Linked DNA regions of Homo sapiens: region 1 is linked to region 2. Evidence: promoter capture Hi-C in human tissues and cell types (Jung and others, 2019). All regions are on one chromosome and are shown on one strand. The core of a region is centred on a gene start or on the middle of the fragment in contact, and the rest is flanking DNA. Distances in the headings are between cores, read along the strand shown. Region 1 overlaps PRDX6-AS1 (PRDX6 antisense RNA 1). Region 2 holds the start of CACYBP (calcyclin binding protein).

Region 1 (3,251 bases), core at 237-2,736, 1.6 Mb after region 2:
TTTTATAAAGGTAAATTATGTCAACTGGACATAACGTTGTTTGGGTCTCATCTGTTGGTACTGATTTTCTGTCTACTTCTATCAATTACTGTGAGAGGAAAGTCAAAGTCTCCAACTATGGTTGTGGATTTATCTAGTTCTCATTTCTGTTTCTGTTTTAAGTTTTTGGAACTTCTCTTAATAGGTGTGTACATTTAAGATTGTTATGTTTTCTTGATTAATTGAACCTTATCCCATTATGCAATATCTCTGTTTATCTTTAGTAGTATTTCTTGCTTTGAAATCTACTTTGATATTAATATAGCCACTACATTTTTTCTTTCGATTAGTGTTTGTATGGTATCTCTTCTTTCATCTTATTACTTCTATTCCCATCTATGTCTTTATTTTTAAAGTAGGTTTCTTGTAGATAGTTAGGTCTTATTTATTTTTAATCAAATTTGACAAACTCGATGTTTTAATTGGTGTGCTTAGATAATTTATATTTAATGTAATTATTGATATGTTTGAATTTATTTTATTATTGATTTTCTAGTTGTCTCCTCTGTCTTTAATTCCTCTGTTTTCCCTTTCTATTGATGTCTCACTATGTTTGCTGACTCTTTTTTTCTTTTTTCTGTATTTTGCTGTCGAACCCATCAATTGATTTCTTAACTTCACACAGTGTATTTTTTTCACTTCTAAAATTTCCATTTCATTCTTTAAAAAAATCTTTAAAAAGACTATTTTTAGAGCAGTTGTGGGTTCACAGACAAATTGAGTGAAAAGTACAGAGAGTTCCCATATGCCCTCTACCCCTACACATGCACAACCTCCCACACTGTCAACATCTGGTACCAGAGTGGTACCTTTGTTACGGGTGATGAACCTATACTGAAACCTCACTATCACCCAAAGTCCATAATTTACATAAGGGGTTTATTCTTGGTGTTGCAGATTCTGTGGGTTTGAACAAATCTATAATGACATATAGCCACCATTATAGTATCATACAGAATAGTTTCACTGCTGTAAAAATTGTCTATATTCTGCATATTCATCTCTCCTTCCCTGCTAAACTCTGGCAATCACTGACTTTTTTACTGTTTCTATACTTTTGCCTTTTCCAGAATATCGCATAGTAGGAATCATACAATATATAATCCTTTCAGATTGGCTTCTTTAACTTAATAACATGTATTTAAGTTTCTTCCTTGTATTTTCATGCCTTGATAGCTCATTCCTTTTAGAACTGAATAATGTTCCATTGTATGGATATACCACAGTGTATTAGTCAGGGCTCCGTGGAGGGACAGAACTAATAGGATAGATGTATATATGAAGGGGAGTTTATTAGGGAGTATTGACTCACATTATCACAAGGCAAAGTCACTCAATAAGCTATCTACAAGCTGAGGAGCAAGGAAGCCAGTCCAAGTCCCAAAACCTCAAAAGTAGGGAAGCCAACAGTGCAGCCTTGTCTGCAGCTGAAGGTCTGAGAGCCCTTGGCAAAACACTGGTGTAAGTCCAAGAGTCCAAAAGCTGAAGAACTTGGAATTTATTGTTTGAGGGCATGAAGCATCCAGCAGGGGAGAAAGATGAAGGCCAGAAGACCGAGCAAGTCTACTTTTCCATCTTCTCCTGCATGCCTTTATAGCTGTACTGGCAGCTGATTAGATGGTGCCCACCCAGATTGAGGGGGGGTCTGCCTCTCCCAGTCCACTGACTCGAATGTTAATCTTCTTTGGCAACACCCTCACAGACACACCCAGGAACAATACTTTGCATCCTTCAATTCAATCAAGTTGACACTCAGTATTAACCATTACACACAGTTTATTTATTCATTCACTTACTGAAGGACAGTCTTGGCTGCTTCAAGGTTTTGGCAGTTATGAATAAAGTCACTATGTACATCCATGTGCAGGTTTTTGTGTGGACATATGTTTTTAACTCATTTGAATAAATGCCAAGGGATGTGATTGCTGGATTGTATGTTAAAAATATGCTTAATTTTGTAAGATGGTTCTTTTTTTTTATAGTTTCTATTATTCTGCCAATAATTTCTGTTTTTTTCCCTTTGTTCAAGAGTGTTTATCTTTACTTTGTGGAGCATAGTTACGATAGTTGCCTTAAAATCTGTGCCTGATTATTCTACCATCTTGGTCTTCTCAGTGGTAGCATTTATTGACTGTACTTTTCATGCAAATTAGTAAACTTTTATTGGTTCTTTGTACGCTGAGTGATTTTAGATTGTATCCTGGACATTCTGAGTATTTAATTTGGATGTTTTTCATTAAAATCCTCAAGAGATTTGGAAGATTGTTTGCTTATTTGAGTAGGTAATCACACTGGTTTTGTTCAGACTATCTGTACTTTATGAGTGATACTTCCAATGTTATCTCAGTTTTCGGAACCTCTACTTGGCAGCTTTGAGTATGTTCCATGCATGCACAGCTCAGGGTTAAGCCTGGGCCTGTGCTAGGTCATACACAGAGTTAGGAGATCCATTTCTCTAATCTCTTATCTCCGGGACTCCCCATAGTCACCTACCTATATGTTTTCTATTCCTCATCCTCTGGCTCAATAGACCGGGGTTCTTTTGGAGTTTTGGCTGCCTGTGTTGCTACCAGGTCCTGTGACCAGGACCATTTTGGGTGCTATGTGGAGATGGAAAAAAGAGAGAGAAAATTTACCTACTGACTTACTCCAGTACTCTCTGGACCACAGGAGCCCTTTTCTGTTTGTTTAACTAGAAAAACAGAATTTCTATTGGGATTTTAGCCGACCATGCTACTTTTCACCCTGGCTCTGCTAGGCAAGCTGTGAAAATGGGGGAGGGAATGAGAATGCAAGGATTCCTTTCTATGTTCTTCAGCTTAAAGGATCCCAGCCTTCTTTCTAGACAGAAGGGATTTATCTGAAAGTATTAGCTGTCTGCAGCACCCCCATCGCAGCTCATTTGTGTGATTGCTTTCAGCCAAAGCCTGTGAAAAGAAAGAGGAAATAAAATGAGAAACTTAATCCTGTGCAAATTGCTGTTTCAGTTTTTGACTTCTCTTCATAATCTGACTGCATTTCTTTACCTTTCAGAGTCCTTAGGTAGTTGTTTTTTGTATTTTGTCCAGAGTTTTTAGCTGTAATCAGCAGAAGAGGTAGGCTTTATTGAATTCACTCTTGACTGTACTTTCTTTTATATTCTTTTTTCACTTCTATCTGTACTACCTCTCTCAAGATACAATGACTGACACTAATCCTATCCTTTTATTCTT
Region 2 (2,876 bases), core at 206-2,705:
CACTGTGAATATATTTAAACAAAAAACAAATACCTGAATTGTACACTTTAAAATGGTTAAAAACTTGAATTTTATCTCAAACAAAACAAAAATCAAGTGCCCTCAAATGTATATTTCTAAGTGCCTAAACTGAGAACGATCTCTACTTTCAAGAGGACTAACACTGAGCTATCCACCTGCAAGACTGTGAAGTTATCTCCTAGGGGCACATAGTACCCAAGACCTACCTTAAAAGACTTGTCACAAGATACCCAGATTAATACTGGAACACACAAACCTCATAGTTTTTCTTCATTTAAAGAAAAGATTTTGAGTTTAAAAAACAAAAACAAAACAAAACAAAAGCTTGGGACTCCCCAGTACTTGTTTTCATAAAGCAAATCTAGTTAATACACACCCAACACTTAACTGTGAATAACTGTCCCGTCTTCACCTCCCACTTACGCCAGGAAATGAGCAATACAAGTACTATCATTCCCATTTTCTAACTGAGCAAACTAAGTCTCCACAAAATTTAATTCTCCAACGTTCAGAGTTTACAGAGCTTTAACACAGGCCATTCGCTTTCTTACTATTAATTACAACTAACTTTCCAAGTTATTTATTTTAAAAATCACATACAGCAGATTGCTGTTTGCCAATCACTGACTTAAACACCTAGAAATCATATTTTTTAACAACCCTATGAAATGGATGCTACTGCGACACAGAGAAGCTAAACAACTTGCCCAGAGTAACACAGCTCCTCGTGTGTAGAGAAAACCTGACTAGGAGAATTCAAGTGCTAGCACTGAGAACTCACCTTCCAACCGCCCTCTACCAAGAACGACACTCATGTTTGCACCCAGCTTTGCTTGAATGAAGCTTCCTGTCCACTGGCTGGGAAACCAGGGCAGAAAGGGCCTGAGGAACACGCGCAAAGGGCCGCTCTCCCAGACCCACTCCCCGCACCGCCTGCACGGATAATCGCCGCACACCCCCGCTCGAGCCCAGCAGGCGAGTGGGGTGCGAGGTCGAGTGGAAGCGCTGGGGAGCCGACGGCGCAGCAAGGGGCGAGTGAGGTGTCCCCCGGGAAGGCGGCGCACTGACTGGCGCGGGACCGGGTGGCCGCAGGGCGGCTCAGCCCACGGAAACGGCGGTAGGGCGGGAGGCTGGCGCTGCAGCTCCAGCCGGGGGGCATAAGGAATATGGGGCCGGACCACTTACCTCTTCTGAAGCCATGGGGGCTGGGTCAGGCCGAAGTCCCGAGCTGCAGCCGCGCAGAAGGAGGAACAGGAAACCCCGCGCCGAGCCCTCAAACCGAGCGCAGACGCCTACCCGCACGAGTCGCGGCGCTGCAGCCTGCGCCCACACCGACCCTGCGCAAGATCGCGGCCCGCCTCCCGCACGCGACGGATCTCGAACCTTCGCGAGGCAGCCGCCGCCACCGCCCACCGCGAGCACGCACAGCCCGCCAAGCCTGGCTCCACCCACCCTTCCTCGCCTCGCCGAGCCTAGCCCCACCCCTCCCCGCCCCGCCGAGTCTGGCTCCGCCCGCCTGCCGAATCTCCTAGCAACGCTCAAGTCTCGCGAGCGAACCGGCAATCCGAGAAGAGTAATGTCTTGCTCTCCGCCCTGACAACTTTTATGTATTATAATTTGACCGCGCTGGGCCACGCTGCGCAGTCGCAGCTCGGAACCGCTGCGTTAACCCAGCCCCGGAAATAACGTACCGATCTTCGGAGTCCAAGTCGGAAGTTGACTAGAGAGTCACCTGCTTTCGTCCGCTCTAGGACACCAGACACACCAGGCCGCCATGTTGTGTAAGGTTAGTCTCTCAGCCTCCGCGAGAAGAAGGCGAAAAATGGGGAGGAGCAGCCTGGTTACTTTCAAACGAGAAAGAACGGATATGTTAAGCGTGGAGGGCTCCTAATGGTAGCGGTTTGATTTTCAGTGAGTTTGGCGCGGTGGAGACGTCACCGCGGTCTAACAGTTCCGACGTGGTGGCGTCATCACTGGCCGCCGTAGGAGGTGGAGCTACGTTGGCCTCGTGACCGGGCCCTGTAGCGGAAGCCCAGGTCAAGGCCCTAACAAAAGGGCCCGCCTATGGCCACAGTTTCAGGCCCTCCTTTCAGTCATGGACTGTTGAAGCACGATTTCCTGGTGCTTTCGCCCCTTTCACCGACCATTTCAAGAGTCCGTAGTTCTCGCCTGGGTTTGGATTCGGTATAAGTGAGCCTGTTTACCATCAAAGAAAATGGTGAAATGTCTTCTGGAGACGATGTTCTCTTCTGGTTCTAACCCTGTCACTCAGTGAGACCCCCAGAGAAGCCTAGTTTTCAGATTATTCTAGTCCTTGGCAGGCTCAAGATGTCAACAACACGGTTGGAAACAACCCCTGAGAGGTCACATAGCGCGCACTCAGCTTTACAGATCGTCCAAGGCAGCGACCCCTGAGAGGTCACATAGCGCGCACTCAGCTTTATAGATCGTCCAAGGCAGCAATTAGAATCAGCAACTCGGAGAGGAAAAAAAGCTGTTAGCGGAATGGAGGCTGACCATTATCTGTAGTAAAGAATCGGAAGTACAGTACAAAAATAAATTACCGAAACGCAACATGCGTGAATTTCACACAAAAAAATGAAGTTGAGGGAAAGAAGCCAGACATGGAAGAGTTCATATTGCGTGGTTCCATTTAAAAACTAGCCCATGGTGTTAATGAGCATAGTGGGGAGGACAATGACATGAAAGAGCCACCAGGGGGCTTTTGAGGTTCAGGTAATGTTTCTTGATTTGGACACTGATTATAGATAGGTGGGTTCACTTTAGAAATCTCATTGAGTTGTAAACGTATATTTATGTACGTAGTTTTTTCTGTAGATTATGCTTAAGGCCCG

The links. Contacts are between HindIII fragments. The study calls those that stand out against the background at their distance.
Region 1: a fragment that was not itself captured here is called in contact with the fragment with the promoter of CACYBP in region 2 in 1 of the 25 tissues and cell types used here (mesenchymal stem cells).

Annotation. Positions count from the first base shown.
Region 1 is chr1:173,445,032-173,448,282 of GRCh38, reverse strand. All of the region lies in intron 1 of PRDX6-AS1 (PRDX6 antisense RNA 1), which reads left to right. All of the region lies in intron 2 of LOC100506023 (a long non-coding RNA gene), which reads left to right. It also overlaps a transcript of TNFSF4 not described here. Among named protein-coding and RNA genes, the nearest start is that of PRDX6-AS1, 15 kb to the left of the region's middle. RefSeq lists an enhancer at 3,179-3,251. The HindIII fragment of the contact is 4,095 bases long and covers 1-3,251 here.
Region 2 is chr1:174,998,526-175,001,401 of GRCh38, reverse strand. CACYBP (calcyclin binding protein) reads right to left here and starts at 1,455. Exons shown (of 6, transcript NM_014412.3): 1 at 1,207-1,455. The coding sequence starts at 1,221. LOC105371622 (a long non-coding RNA gene) reads left to right here and starts at 1,756. Exons shown (of 2, transcript NR_188647.1): 1 at 1,756-1,807. RefSeq lists a silencer at 1,435-1,554 and enhancers at 1,585-2,094, 1,646-2,182, 2,125-2,334. The HindIII fragment of the contact is 5,191 bases long and covers 606-2,876 here.